Regions from separate parts of the Homo sapiens genome. Here regions 2 and 3 are each linked to region 1. The links are contacts of gene promoters, found by promoter capture Hi-C in blood cells and fetal thymus (Javierre and others, 2016). All regions are on one chromosome and are shown on one strand. Each heading gives the region's core, a stretch centred on a gene start or on the middle of the fragment in contact. The rest is flanking DNA. Distances are from core to core; before and after follow the strand shown. Region 1 holds the start of OR10H5 (olfactory receptor family 10 subfamily H member 5). Region 2 has its middle 13 kb from the start of OR7C2. Region 3 overlaps SLC1A6 (solute carrier family 1 member 6).

Evidence for each region. The method cuts DNA at HindIII sites, captures the fragments that hold promoters and counts their contacts. A CHiCAGO score of 5 or more calls a contact.
Region 2: a fragment that was not itself captured here is called in contact with the fragment with the promoter of OR10H5 in region 1 in 1 of 17 cell types (M2 macrophages); the score reaches 5.1 in M2 macrophages.
Region 3: a fragment that was not itself captured here is called in contact with the fragment with the promoter of OR10H5 in region 1 in 1 of 17 cell types (M1 macrophages); the score reaches 5.8 in M1 macrophages.

Annotation. Positions count from the first base shown.
Region 1 is chr19:15,786,355-15,788,987 of GRCh38, reverse strand. It overlaps OR10H5 (olfactory receptor family 10 subfamily H member 5), which reads right to left and starts at 1,327. Exons shown (of 2, transcript NM_001004466.2): 1 at 1,272-1,327. The HindIII fragment of the contact is 16,043 bases long and covers 1-2,633 here.
Region 2 is chr19:14,927,541-14,930,173 of GRCh38, reverse strand. It overlaps the pseudogene OR7A15P. Among named protein-coding and RNA genes, the nearest start is that of OR7C2, 13 kb to the left of the region's middle. The HindIII fragment of the contact is 592 bases long and covers 1,045-1,636 here.
Region 3 is chr19:14,957,088-14,959,720 of GRCh38, reverse strand. All of the region lies in intron 6 of SLC1A6 (solute carrier family 1 member 6), which reads left to right. Among named protein-coding and RNA genes, the nearest start is that of OR7C2, 17 kb to the right of the region's middle. The HindIII fragment of the contact is 2,634 bases long and covers 1-2,628 here.

The sequences.
Region 1 (2,633 bases), core at 78-2,577:
TAATACCTAGGTGATAGGTTGATAGGTGCAGCAAAGCACCATGGCACACATTTGCCTGTGTGACAAACCTGCACATCCTGAGCATGTACCCTGAAACCAAACTAAACTAAACTAAAATAAAATAATGTGACCTTAGGTGGCAATAGAGTCTTTTACAGATGTCATTAAGGTAAGGATCCAAAAATGAGATCAGCTGGGTGTGGTGGCTCACACCTATAATCCCAGCACTGTGGGAGACCAAGGTGGGTGGGGCGGGGGATTGCTTGAATCCAGGAGTTCGAGACCAGCCTGAGCAACATGGCAAAACCCCATCTCTACAAAAATTAGCTGGGCGTGGTGCTGTGTGCCTGCGCTAACAGCTGCTTAGGAGGCCAAGTGGGAGGATCAGTTGAGCCTGGGAGGTCGAGGCTGCAGTGAGCTGTGATCGTGCCACTGCACTCCAGCCTGGGTGACAGAGCGAGACCCTGTCCAAAAAATAATAATAATAAAAATAAAAATGAGATTATTCTGAATTAGGTTGTTTACTAAATCCAACAACTGGTGCCCCTCAAAGACGAGGGGAGGACACACAGAGGAAAAGGTCGCGTGAAGAGAGAGGCAGAGATTGGAGCGATGCAGCTACAAATCAATCAATGCCTAGAGCACCCAGAAGCTGGAAGAGGCAAGGCATCTTCTCCCTTAGAATCTTCAGAGGGAGAGTAGCTTTGTAGACGTCTTGCTTTAAGACGTCTAGCCTCCAGAACCCTGCAAGAATGCATTTATCTTGTTTTAAGCCACAAGGTTTGCGGCACTTTGAAATGGCAGCTACAATAATCTCATACAAGCGCACACAACTGCACACACACACACACAGTGAAGGCAGGAGTACACATGGGTGATGCCTAAGTACACCCACATGCATGGTGACACACTCAATGTCACCCGCTTGGCTCAGAACCACCCTCCTCCACAACTTAGTATAGAGACCACTCCCCACCCCAGCATGGACCCTGGTGGCCACGACTGCTGTGGAAAGGGGGCTGCTCTAGGCAGTAGGTGGACTCTATGGGGGACTTGGAGTGAGGACAGGCTGATCCAGCCTGGAGTCAGGTGGCTGAGGCTATAGAACCCCTACTCCATATCATCCCATGCTCCCTCTCGTTTCTTTTCCCAAACCTGTGCCTCCCTCTGTTCCAATTTTCCCTGCTTCTCTTGCCTTCTCCCTTCCACCTCCCAGTACTCTTGCCACTTCATCCTGGAAAGCAGGTTTGGAAATAGACGACTCCACTTACCTTCATCAGAGACCTTTAGGGACGCCTTGCAGCCAGGCCTGTAATGGCCCTGGGCACAGTGCACCCAGGGTGAGAGCTTCATCTCTGCAGGCGTCTTCCCCAGTGGCACGTTCCCAGAGGTGTCTTGAGGAGCCTGCCTGGGATGCAGGATGCAGGGTAATCGAAGTCCAAGGAGGGAGGCGGGGGACCTTGGGATTGCCCTCTCCATTCCTGCCTCCCTCCTTCCTTTGCTGCTTCCCTCCCTCTTTTCTTCCTTCTCTTCCTTCCTTCCTCTCTTCTTCCCTTCTTCCATCTTTCCTCCCTTCCTCCTGCCTGGGACCCCTTCCACCACTACTCACTCTCACTTATCTCAGTCCTGTTCTCATTTGAGGTTTCAGTTTTTACATCACCTCCTCCCTAAAGATCTCACCATCAAACCCTGACACCACCATCAAACCCTGACACCACCACCACCACCACCCCCTGCGGCTAGCGAGGCTGGGCTGGGCTGCCCCAATTCCAAGCATTTTGGAAAAATGGGACTGGATTCTGGGTGATGTTTCCCAGGATGGTGTCTCTTCTCAACAGATATCAGGAAAGGGATCTGGAGAGACACAGAGGTGTGATTCTCAGAAGAAGCATCCTCTATGGTTGCCTCTGGGAACACAAAGCCCACAGAGGGCAGGGAACAAGGCCAAGGTCACACGGTAGGTTCCTGCAGCAAGCCCAGATGGAGTGGAGGGGCCAAGAGCTCCAGCTCTGCCTCTTCCTCCCCATAAACTTGACAGGGTGCATCATGACCCAGGTATCAACACCTTCAGAATCTCCCAGTTCCCCATAACTCCAGAAACAGTCCAACAAAGATTTCAGATACTGGAATTATCAGGCAAGGACTATGAAACAATATTGCTTACGAAGTTTAAATAACGAAATGTAATTTTGGAAATATCTTCAAGGATAAAGCATTGTAAAGAGCGGCAGGGTTGATTTGAAAAAAAAGATATATAATTTTTAGAACCAAAGCTACAATATTAATATCCCAGGAGAAGTTTAATGCATGTCAGACACAATTGAAGAGAGAATTAGTGAGTTGGGGGCCGGGCGCGGTGGCTCATGCCTGTAATCCCAGCACTCTGGGAGGCTGAGGCAGGTGGATCACTTGAGTTCAGGAGCTCAAGACCAGCCTGGCCAACATGGCGAAACCCCATCTCTACTCAAAATACAAAAATTAGTCAGATGTAGATTCTGGATATTAGCCCTTTGTCAGATGAGTAGATTGCAAAAATTTTCTCCCATTCTGTAGGTTGACTGTTCACTCTGATGGTAGTTTCTTTTGCTGTGCAGAAGCTCTTTAGTTTAATTATATCCCATTTGTCAATTTTG
Region 2 (2,633 bases), core at 91-2,590, 860 kb after region 1:
CTGCATATAACAAAATCCACTGATGCTGAAGTCCCTTATATAAAATGGCATAGTATTTGCATATTAGCTATGCACATTCTCCTGTATACTTTAAATCATTTCTAGAGTACTTATAATACTGAACACAGTGTAAATGCTCTGTAAATAGTTGTTATACTTTATTTAAAAATTTGTATTATTTTTATTGTTGTATTGTGATTTTTAATTTTTTTAAAAAACAATTATATATTTATTTATATATTTTAAATAAAAAGAAAGAAATGGAGATATATGAACTTTCTGACAAAGAATTCAAAAATAATTGTTTTAAGGAAGTGCAGCAAACTTTAAGAAAATACAGAGAAACAATTCACCAAAATCAGAAAGACAATAAATGAACAAAATTTGAAATTTAACAGAGAGATTGAAATTATAAAAAAACTCTAGAAATTCTCAAGATGAAAAATACAATGAATGAAATGAAAAATGCAATCTAGAGTGTCAACAGCAGGATTGATAAAGCAGAAGAAATAAAGCAGAAGAAATAATCTATGAACTTGAAGACAGATTATTAGAAAACATACACTCAGAGGAGAAAAACAGAATAAAAAGGAGTGAAGAAAACTTATGGGATTTTATGGGGCAGCATAAGGAGGGTAAATATTTGAATTAACAGGAATCAAGAAAGAGAAGGAATGAACAAAGAGACAGAAAGCTTATCAAAAAAATAACTGAAAACTTTCCAACTTTCAGGAAAGATATAAATATCCAGATATCAACAGAATAATCTTTGATCATGAGGACTGAAAAGAATTTAGATTATAAAAGATGTAAAGGAATTGATGATCAAGTAAATACACATATTGTTCAATCATCTGTATTTTGTGTTATGATTACATTTGTTAAAGGGGGAAATATTTTTTGGACAATGTAAGTAGTCATATTTGTAGGTAACACTAGAATTTTCAAATAGAAACAGCAAGATGATACAATAAAATAATATAGACCATGACACCAAATCTTTCACTCAGATCAACAAACCTCATTACACATGAATAACAAGCTTCCACACTTCAATGAGTAGATGTACATCATTGAAAACAAACCTTCCATAGAAATTTAGTACATAATTGAAAATGTTACTCTATCATATTTAACGTCATCTCTAACTCTAAGTCCATGTAAAGCCAATTGATTTTTGCCAGTTTGTCTTTCTGTGTAGACTATGCTTGGAGCATTTATTTGATGAGCAACTTTTGACTAAGTACTCAGTGCCAGTAAATATAGTAGAATTCATGAATACTGAGTTCAAGAAGAGAACAGGATCCTAATGGGAGTGAAAAATCCCATAACCAGCTATAAAATACCCTAGTATGTTTAAGTCTACATTATCAGGAAGATCAATTAAGGTAGTGATACAGAAATGAATGACAAACACAAAAAGTGAAAAACCATAGCCTCAGAAATTCTTCTCCAATAAAATTACATAAATGGCCTCAGTGCCAAGCGTAGTTTATTCCATAGGAATAGTACAACTCATCACCCTATGAGGCAAATGGGAATCTCCAAATTGTTTCTGACCCAAGGTTGGGAATAACTTTGAGAAAGGAGGAAAACAAGGGGAAAATCTGTTGAATATTAGAGAGAGAGGAAAGCTTAATAATAGGAGTTGCTTAAATTTGATGAAGCAGTTGAGATAAAAGAAATGGAAACTTCAGGAAATAAATAGAGCAATTTCCAGCCCGGCGCAGTGGCTCACGCCTGTAATCCCAGCACTTTGGGAGGCAGAGGCGGTTGGATCACGAGGTCAGGAGATCAAGACCATCCTGGCTAACATAGTGAAACCCCGTCTCTACTGAAAATACAAGAAATTAGCCGGGTGCGGTGGTGGGTGCCTGTAGTCCCAGCTACTCGGGAGGCTGAGGCAGCAGAATAGCATGAACCCAGGAGGTGGAGCTTGCAGTGAGCGGAGATGGCGCCACTGCACTCTGGCCTGGGCAGCAGAGCAAAACTCTGTCTCAAAAAAAAAAAAAAAAAAAAAAAAGAGCAGTTTCCACTTCCATGATCTGATTAAACAACAGCAATATCTGGCTCTGAGGCTTTGAGCCTTGCAATCATGGATATAGCTTCAGCCCTAGGACAACTGGCCCTTTTCTAGTTTCCCTCCCAAAGAATTCTTCAGAGCCCTCTTTATGTCCTTATTCCTCAGGCTGTAGATGAAGGGGTTCAGCATGGGGGTGACCACAGTGTACCTCACTGAGGCTATTGCACCTGAGTGTGAGTTGTGGGATGCAGCCGAGCTAAGGTACACTCCTAGGCTTGTACAGTAAAACAAGGAGACAACTGAGAGGTGAGACGGACAGGTGGAAAATGCCTTATACTTCCCTTGAGCTGATGAGATTGCACATATGGAGGAAACTATCTTAGAGTAAGAGTAAAGGATCCCAGCGAGACATCCCCCCACCCAGCAGCACAGCTGCCAGATACATCACCATGTCATTAAGAAAGGTGTCAGAACAGGCAAGGTGGATGACCTGATTAAGTTCACAGAAAAAGTGGGGGATTTCCAACTCTCTGCATAAGGACAACTGCAGCACCATTAAGCTATGTAATAAGGAATGCAAGACACTTGTGATCCAGGATACCAGAACCAG
Region 3 (2,633 bases), core at 62-2,561, 830 kb after region 1:
TACCTAAGTTGTTTGGAGAATGGTGGGGCATTCAGGAAGGTGAGAGCATGGGGTAAGTTGGGAGTGGTGGTGGAAGATATTAACAAGGCTGTCAGATCCCAAATGGGAGAAGACTTTGTACATCATCCCAAACAATTGGAAAGTTGTATAGTGTCATATGTAAAATGTTTATTTAGAAACAGAATGCTTGTTCCCCAGTGCCATAAAGAAATAGCACTCAAACATAAATTTAATTATCTCAGCAAGGCAATTTTTACTTCTGCAGAAAGGGTGTTCATCACAGATGGAACAATGGCAAGAGCACACCTGAACAAAGGAGGGAAGAAGCAATTTTTATCCCTTATGCAGTTTGTCCCTGCTACTGTGTCTGTCTCCATTGGCTGGAGCCAGACTTTACAATCTAAACTAAATCCCGACTGGCTAATAATTTAAAACTTTTCTAAATAGGTAAAAGCAATGGAAAACAGAGGAAAAGAGGAAGTTGCTTACAAAAGGACTTAGAAAAGTAATAACATTCCCAAATAAGGAAGGGGTATAGGCTGCAAGCTGGGACATGCCTGTGAGCACATCCAGCACAGATATCTTGGTTAAAGTACAAGGACGTAGAATGTACTATGTGCCTGTGAGCGTGTCTAACACCTACATAGGATAGGGCTTAACAAAGAGTTATTAGCATAAAGTAAGGAGGCTTGAAGGAAGTTAGTCTTTAAAAGAAACTATTTTTAACACTTAAGATTTATTCTTTAACAAGAAGGGAAACTTTGAAGACGAACTTTTACTTTCTTCATATAAGGAACTTGAGGCCAAGTTGAGGGCCTGGAAAAGCATCTGAAAGGAATGGGAGTGGGGAGCTTATTAAGGATAAGCAGAGAGTTAACAAGGAATAATGAAGGCTCAGCTGAATTGGGAACAATGAATTTATAGCAGTGTCATTGGCATGATTGGGTGAAATGTCCAGATGTGCCAGGTGGCTGAGTGTAGGGGGTAAGAAATCATGCACAATTAATCTTGGGCTGAGGAATTTTGCAGGGGATGAGGTGGAAGGATGGAGGTGAGGAAGTTGAGAGAGGGATTACTCAGAGTAAGCATAGAGGTGGATCTAGTCATGTTGACTTGGAGAAGACTCAGCAACTACTCCCCAGGGCTAACTCTGAGCCCAGTTTGGAGAACACAGATGTGACTGGAGAAGCCCCGTGCATCCTCATTTTTGACTCAAGCTATTGTACCACCTTCCCAAGAGGTCCCCACCTCCTCCAACACATCCACGATGAATGTGAGCCAAAGTAGATTTCAAATTTTTTTTTTTTTTTGAGATGCAGTCTGGCTCTGTCGCCCAAGCTGGAGTGCAGTGATGTGATCTCAGCTCACTGCAACCTCTGCCTCCTGGGTTCAAGTGATTCTTCTGCCTCAGCCTCCCGAGTAGCTGGGACTACAGGTGTGCACTACCACACCTGACTAATTTTTTTATTTTTAATAGAGATGGGATTTCACCATGTTGGCCAGGCTGGTCTCGAACTCCTGACCTCAAGTGATCTGCCCTCCTCGGCCTCCCAAAGTGCTGGGATTACAGGCATGAGCCACCATGCCCAGCCATAAACTTCAATTTCTAAAGAAAGAGGAGTAGCCATTGAAGCCTCGAAATGAGATGATGGTGCCAATGGCAGAAACTCACTCGATTGACCCGTGGGCTGGATTATGGGGGGAAACAGGTGAGCCCCTGATGAACTTGCTTCTTTCATCTTCTCTATTCTCCTTTTTACTCAATACTCCAGCCACATTGGTCTTCTCTCTGGTCCTCCAGCACTCCTAGTGCATGCCCATCTCAGAGTCTGCATTGTGCCTGCAATGATTTCTTCCAGATACACAGGGTACCTTCTCATCATGCAAGTCTCAGCTTAAATGTCACCTCTTCAGAAAAGCCCTCTCTGACCATCTGCTCAGAAGCAGTCCCATCCAGTGACTCTCCTTTGCTGTTATCACCACTTGAAGTTTGCAATTAGTGCATTTCTATGTGTACCTCCTGCTTTCCCCATTAGAATGTGTCTTAGTTCATGTCAGCTGCTGTAACAAAAATACCATAGACATTGTGGCTTAAAGAACAAAAATGTATTTCGCACAGCTCTGGAGGGTGGGAAGTCTAAGTTCAAGGCACCCACAGATTCCATGTCTGGTGAGGGCTGTCTTCTGGTTCATGGAAGGCGTCTTCTTGCTGTGTCTTCGAATGACAGAAGGGTGGAGGGAGCTCTCTGGTGTGTCTTTTATATGGGCACTAATTCCATTCATGATGGCTCTACCCTCATGACCTAATCACCTCCCAATACTATCCCATTGGGGGTTAGGATCTCAAGATATGAATTTGGTTGGAGTGGGGAGGGGACATAAACATTTAGTCCATAACAGAATGTAAGTGCTTTGAGGACGAGAGCCATGTGCCTGGTACTCAGTAGGTACTCAGTCAATATCTGTGGAATGAATGAATACATCGGTGATTTTGATAGGACAAGTGGTTTGAGAGGGAAATGCTTAGGCTGGTGAATGAGTGATAACAGGCACTGATAGGGAAGAGAATAGGGGCATACACATTTCAAATGTGGAACAAACAGTTGGGGGCAGAAGATAAGGGAAGCTTAGAA